Linked DNA regions of Homo sapiens: region 2 is linked to region 1. The links are contacts of gene promoters, found by promoter capture Hi-C in human tissues and cell types (Jung and others, 2019). All regions are on one chromosome and are shown on one strand. The core of a region is centred on a gene start or on the middle of the fragment in contact, and the rest is flanking DNA. Distances in the headings are between cores, read along the strand shown. Region 1 holds the start of CDH8 (cadherin 8). Region 2 has its middle 630 kb from the start of CDH8-AS1.

Region 1 (3,627 bases), core at 400-2,899:
CTATCGTTTAATTGGTGCTGAAGTGAGCAGCTGCCAGCCCGATTTTCCATTACGGACTAATATTGTGCGTTTGCAACAATAAACAATTAATGTGGTTTGATTTCTTACATTTAGCAACCCAAGCAAACAGCTGCCATCTCCGCTGGTGGAGGCAAACGGCTAGTCCTTGACATGCCGCCGGCTCCGTGCCTGCGGGGGAAGGGTCAACCGCAAGGAAACTTTGAGGATTCTGCCAGACTGGGTGGGGGAAGGCTCTGGTGTTTGGGAGGAATAAGCGGAGGAAATTGTGGATACCTGTTGGCATCAGCGTTGGCGGCAGCACGTTTTTTTACCGTTTCCCAGCCTTGGCTGGATCCTGGGAGAACCGGAGTAGGTCCCTTATGAACCTCTTACGTACTGGCAGAACCTAGGCAAGAGCCTTTTTCCCTCCGATCCTGCGAGGGGCGCGACCAGCCCCTCAAAGGTTCCCGGATGAGAAGCGGCCAGACCACAGAAAGCGCAGGTCTGGGCTCAGCTGTCCCTAGGAGAGCGGCTACGGAGTCCCCGGCTTAAGGGGGCCTCCGTGCACGCAATCTCGAGTTGCGGGGAGACACTGCCTGGGGGTCCTGCAGGGGTGCTGGGCAGCGTCTTGGCGAGGGCAGAGCCGCAGGGCGACTCCGGAGCCCGGCAAGTTTGTAGCGGGCACCGCACCTCCCAGAGCTGGAGCTGCCACTTGTGGGAAAGCCTCGCGCTGGGGCTTTCGCAGCTGAGCCTTGGCCCGCAGCCCTGCCGCGGGGGTCGCCCTCCCTCGCCTCGGAGATGAGGCGGTGCAGAAAACCAGCCATAGACCACTCGGGCCCCCTCGCCTCCTTTTTTCCCTGGCTTGCACCCTCCGCACAGCGGGCTGCAGGTGCTTCCCATTCACCGCACGGACCCCGCAGTGAAGGCGCGCGGCTGCAGCCGCGCCTGCCTGCGTTGGGAAGCGGCGAAATAGCCAAGTCGCCGCAGGGAAGGAAACCGGCAGGAAAACTGGAGGGGCACAGCCTGGAGCTTGCTACTCTCTAGGATCTGTTGTCAAAGCAGTTTGCAAAAACAGTCAGGCAAAACCTTGAGGCGTACGTACGTTATCACCCACGGATATCGCGAAAGACACAGCTTAGCCCAGAGCCTATGCTAAGAACCCTCATCCACCATCTGAGGGGCAGGAGGCGCGCAAGGTGTCCGAAGGGGCATGGGAATTCCTATAAGAAACGGTCCCTTCTGGATAGTCGGAACATAGAGGAAAACGGGGGTGGGTTAGGGGAACACTTACTCTTGTGGGGCCCTGCGCTGGCGAATGTCAAGCCTCCAGGTTCACAAATGGCTGGAGGTGCTCGGGGTTAGCTCCCGAGGGCGGCAAGCGCCGACCGGTCCTCGCTCGCTAGGCAGGCGCCTCCGGATTCCGTTCATGCCTCTCGGAGCTACAGGGCTTGGTGCGGAGACGCAGGGCGGGCGCGCTGGGCTCTGGGTGTCCGCAACCCAAAGTGCAGCTGGTGTCTTGACGCTACCGTCTATGCACAAGCCGGCGGCGGCGGCGGAGCTTGGAGGAGGCAGGGAGATTCCAAATAAATCCACTAATTCTGGGCTGAGCGCTCCGGCGTGCGAGCCCGCCTGCCTGCCAAATGTAACTGTGAAGTGATGTGGAAAAGTGAGCCGGGTGCCTCCCCTGACGGATCTCATTGGGCAGAGCGCAGAGGCAGGTCTACCACTTGGAAATTCATGTAAGCAGTCCCCCCTCCCCGCCCCCTCCCCGCCTTCCCCCTTCGCTCTCCCGCGCTGGCTCGATCGCTCTCTTTCCCCCTACCCAAGTGGGCGCACAACTTTTCGCTCCTCGCTCCCGAGCAAGCCCCGCGCGTCTCTGCCGCCAGAGCCACGAGGTGAAGATGCGCCCTTCCGCGCGGTGCGCGCAGCCCGCTGAGGACCGAGCTCCTGGATAAGTGGGCTGGCAGATAATAACAGCATGCGGATGAGGTACCTGCGAGCTTTCTCTCTAGAGGTCTCACCTGAGCTCTGGGGCTGGCGTTATGTTGAAAAGCGTCTCAGTGACCCGCAGCTATTTTCCGTAGGAGGAAGAGGACGCGACAGGGCAAAGGGTTGAGCGTGGGCAGCTTACCTCCTCTTTATTCCAAGGGCCTCTTGCGTACAGAATAGGGTGATTGTGAGACCCCTGCCTGCAACTCAGACGCTATGTAGAGGCTGTGTGTCGCGGTTCTGTGATGGAGCGCATTCCTGATGTCCCCGTGCTCCTTTGGGAAAATGGGATGAGGGACAGCAGAGTGGCAGCCAGGAGGGGCGCGCAGTAGTTGGTTGTGGGGAGGAGGGCAGGCAAAGCAGAACTTGCTTGGGAAATAGGGGAGGAATTTCTAGGTCTTCTCAATGTGCCCTGATCTTGTCATATCCTCTCAGATACCATCCTTGCGGTTCTCCTGCCTCCACCAAGACCTGCCCTGTCTGTGGTCACTTCAAGTCTTCTGATGGGCTGCGCTCAGATCTTGAGAAATGGCCACCCTGGGGTAAAAGGGACCATGAATCAGGAGGTCCAGATTTCTTTTCTTTTTCAACACTGGGGCTAACATGTAGACGATGCCACAGTCATCATCTTCTAATAAAATTAGATAAATATAAGACAAATAAATTCTTACCTTAAAAAAAAAAACCCTCCCCTCCACAGGAGATCCCGATTTAGTCCCTTCCCTGTGTGCACTAGACGTGAGCCTGAGGGTGGATTTTACCATCTGGGGACAGAGCAAGAACAGAAGGGGGAAAAAGGTGCAGGGGACAAGACGCACAGTCTGTAGAGCTTGTACTGTCTCACTCAAATTAATGAGAAAGAGTGAACAGAATGAGAAAATAGGCACAACATGCTTATGATATTTATGCAAATTTGACATTTTTTTGTGTGCTGCATCTGACAACCCATTGTGAAATGTGAAAAAGAGTATTGGCTGTAGCTCTAATATCTGATTGTTTCATGTTCTAGCTGTCATAGGCAAGAAACTTAGTGGATTATTTCAGAGAGGGAGAGGTGAAGAGAACCAAGTGGTATTTTTTTTCCCCCAGGCAGTCACTAAGTAACTGTTTGTTCTCTTCTCAGACTGTGTCTGCTTACAGGGTATTGGAATTGGCTAATTCTGTCTTGGAAAAAGGAGCAGCAGTCAAGGCTCAATCAAATTATAACTGCTGCTAGACCAGACAGTCCCAAGTGGACAAAGAAATAGATCACATTTTGGGTTGTGCTTAATTTCAGATATTCATTTTCACTTGAACAAATAATTTGAACCGTTCCTTGGGGTAACTTCTTACATCTATGAAAACTCAAAAAAACTCATGTGCTACTGAAAGCTGGGGATTGTCACAAGTAACAAACTTGTCTCAAAAAAAAAAAAAAAAGCCAGATTGTTAGACAATATCCTCAAATCTCATTTTCTTAACAAACTATGCTGACATAGTAAAGATAGTCAGAATCCAATGGCTTTTAAAGAGAGCCAGAATCCAATGGCTTTGGGTATCTAGGGTTAAGAAGAGTTTGCTTTGACTCATCTTGTCCATATTTACTCTTACAGCAGTTATATACATTGTCTTCCCTGAATTTTGGTCCTCTGGAATTCA
Region 2 (3,627 bases), core at 536-3,035, 740 kb before region 1:
CAAAATACTGCAATGCCTAAACCTACCACGACTTTTTTTCTGTGTCCAGTGTTTTGTTATATAATGTAATTTTTCTGATAGTTACTTTTTAAATACATGAAAAGAGAAAAATAACATGTTAAATCATGTTAGAAAATACGAATGTAGTACTATATCTTAGATAATGTGCTAACACTTTATATACTTTATGTGTTCAGTCAAAGGATACTACTAATAATATGGTTTTAGTCATTTAATTATCATTACTAAGCACCTTCAAAGTTCTAGACATTATATTGGATATTAAGAATATAAAGATAAGTAAAGCACAAACCCTCAAGAAAATTAAAGTACAGTGAAGACAGGATACATTCTCTATGCATATCACTTATATAAGTTGTCAAAGTGATTTTTTTGAATTACACCTGGAACCATAACAGCCAAATTTTATAGTGGAGGACCCTGGAATCAAGAGGAGAAATACCAATAGAAGCGAAACAGAGATTTAATGTTCTTCCTGTTCCCTGCTGAGACTTACGGTGGCCTACATAACAGTGTTGACTCTGTCCAACATCTAAAGAAATCCCTTGATGAAGGAGCTGCCAGCCTTCAGAGGAGCCTGATAAATATTCTTTTCTTTCTGAAGACTTGCAGTTGATTTTCACTCTAGCGTTCTAAGAAATTCTATAGACTTTTTGCAGTTTAGCATCCAATATATATGTGTCACCATTTAATATAAGCAAGAATACACTTGAAGATATACTTTTTCAATCTACATGTTTTCTTGAAAAGAATACTTAAGTGTATCAAAGTTCTTTTCCATTTTTTTGTTATTATTTTGGTTTGCAGAAAAAATGAGAAAAAAATGATGCGAAAGCCACAGAACTCAAAGTAAGAGATTTTCATGTTCATCCACTTAAGTTTGGGACTATAAACCACAATAATTCTAAATTCCAAAAAAGTTTTGTGCTCAACACAGTGTCTAGAAAATTCAAGACTTAAAAATTTCCTAATTTCAATTAAATAAATGCATTAAATAATACCCCTTTACTGAGCATAAAATAGTTATGTAAATTTACCAGTAAAAATGTTAAATAAGGTACTTATTCTACTAATCTTATAAAGATGCTTGAAATTAAAAGTAACTTTTATTTCTTGGCCTCTCATTGAAGGTCTATCCATTAAACATTTATTAGCTATGTCAGATATTGCATAGGGGCCACATTGAAGCTATGAAGGACACGTATTTTTTCAACCCAGATTTCCAGAACTGTTTTATTGACTTTTGCATTTAAGCTCCAGCCTCAAAATTTTCTGAAGGACAGAGGCATAATGTGTTATCTATTGCCTGGGAATAATGAAAAATGAAATGTATAATAGGAATATATACTTTACACTTAACATATGGAATGACAAAGTATCCATCTCAAGTATGACTAAATATTAATAAATCGCAATCTGAATAGAAAACCAAAGAAGCAAACAATTCTATTATGCAAATAGCAGTAATTTATTGTGCAGTTAGAAAATAACAATCTCTAAAAATAAATGTTTGTAACAAACTATCTCATGCATATAAGTAGATCAACAATTTATTCCATATTCCTGTGAAGCTTGCCAACAGATCTAAGACACAGTTAAGAAGTTAAGATGTTTAAAGCCTTTCTTTATCTGTTTTATATTGTTTCCTCTAAGGTCATATTATTATTGAAATAGTGTGCGTGTGTGTGTGTGTATGTGTGTGTCTGTGTGTGTGTGTGGGTATGAGATTCCTGTAATATACATTTTTCTCATTCAAAAGCCTGATTCTGAAAACTGAATTTCCCAAAACATTCTGATAGGGAAACAAATCAGTTTCCTAGAGTTAAATGGAACAGTAGAATCATGTATTTCAGATTCAGAATTTTCTTCCACAGTGAGATTAATTTTCCAGCCTCTCTCACTCATTCATTGCATATTTATTGGGCATTTTTTATTTGCCAGTGCTTACACTGGGCAACATAAATATAATATTGAGTGAAAACAGATATGATCTCATGAAGGTACAGTCTGGTGGAGAAATACTTTACTGGAATTATTATATATGTAGAATTTAATTATCAATTGTGGCAAGGGCTTTGAGAGAGGGGAATATGATAGGTGGTATTGCCTTAATTAGGAAAGTAATAGCTTATGTGAGGAAGGGATGATTTGAGTCTGAGAAGATCCAATAGACAGTATTGCACTGTCCCCCCACCCCCACCTCCATCTCAAATGAATAAAATGAAGATTTTCAAGAAGAGTTGCATAAGTGTCTATCTGAAAGAGGGTCTGGGTTTATGAATTAACTGTGATAATGGCATTCTGTGAACAAGATGTAAGTGACCACTTCTATGCCCCAAAATCTTGTAACACAATACCTGAAAAGAATATTAAGGGCTGACTTGAAAACACTTTTGAGAGGATAAGATGGAAGCTAAATAATTATTCTCAGCCTTCACTGCAGATAAAATAAAAGAAAATTAGTCAAAATTACATCATTTTTATTTAAGGAATATAGCACCATGCATTAACAAGGCATATATATGCAATGCCTAGAAGTCATTCAGAATATATGTCGAGAATAAAAAGAATTTTATCTCCCCAGAACTATTCTTAACTTTCCTTCTGCTTCCATTTTTCTTTAATGGCCCAAGAGCCTCAGGATCACTGGAGCTCAAAAACAGACTCACCGTCTATAACATTACTATGTTTAATCAGTAGCCAAGTCCTACCTATTCTACCTTAATGATATCATTCTTATTCCACCATCACTGCTGTAATTCGGGCCTGCAATACATTTCAGCTGTGGTATTCTAATAGACTCGTCAGTGGTCACTGTAGCTCAGACTGTCATTCTCGTCATTCATTTTGCACATTGGAACTAGTGTACTCTCCTTAAAATACATCTCTAGTCACAAGACATCCTTTCACAGACTTCACTTAATAAGCAATAGGGAATTGTTGAAAGTTTTAAAACCCATTAGCCTATAATTCATGCTTATTCTCAAGAACTATTTACAACTTATATTGTTTTATCTCAATAAAAACATATCCCCATAATACATTTACTGAACAGATATTTATTGGGCATCTACTGTATGCTAGAAATTAGAGATACAAAAATAGAAAAAAAAAGTTCTCTTTCTATAGCTTGCAAATTAGCAACCTATACATTTGAATACAAACATTTTCATAGCAAATACAGCTATAAAAAGCTAAATGTCATGGAGTTGTAGAAAAAAGTTATTCTGGTCTAATTCATTCTGTGATGTTTCTTCTTTTGAGTTTTCTGTTATGAGTGTGTCAGAAACTGCCTAATTTCTTTAAAGTGTGTTTAGATATGAGAGTAATGACTCCATTATGTTAGGATTGTAATTACTTCTCTGTTGTCTCTGGCTTTGCATGTGATTTAATTATGTTACTGACAAATTGCTGTATCATGGTTATTCTCAAAACAACGGTATATTCCACTGATGCTTCCTTTTGAGGACCACAGGTATTTTTAGGTGCTATTGTTTATTACAAATTTATATTTAGCCCATTTTATAGATATATGTACCCACATTTTGCAAATGAAGAGGTGACATTTGTTCCTTCTCTGGCTTTTCATTTAGTTTGAGATAATAT

The links. Contacts are between HindIII fragments. The study calls those that stand out against the background at their distance.
Region 2: a fragment that was not itself captured here is called in contact with the fragment with the promoter of CDH8 in region 1 in 1 of the 25 tissues and cell types used here (lymphoblastoid cells).

The regions. Positions count from the first base shown.
Region 1 is chr16:62,034,789-62,038,415 of GRCh38, forward strand. CDH8 (cadherin 8) reads right to left here and starts at 1,650. Exons shown (of 12, transcript NM_001796.5): 1 at 1,292-1,650. It overlaps LOC124903777 (a long non-coding RNA gene), which reads left to right and starts at 1,802. Exons shown (of 2, transcript XR_007065217.1): 1 at 1,802-1,989; 2 at 2,425-2,645. The HindIII fragment of the contact is 11,196 bases long and covers 1-3,627 here.
Region 2 is chr16:61,290,161-61,293,787 of GRCh38, forward strand. No RefSeq gene overlaps it. Among named protein-coding and RNA genes, the nearest start is that of CDH8-AS1, 630 kb to the right of the region's middle. The HindIII fragment of the contact is 7,798 bases long and covers 1-3,627 here.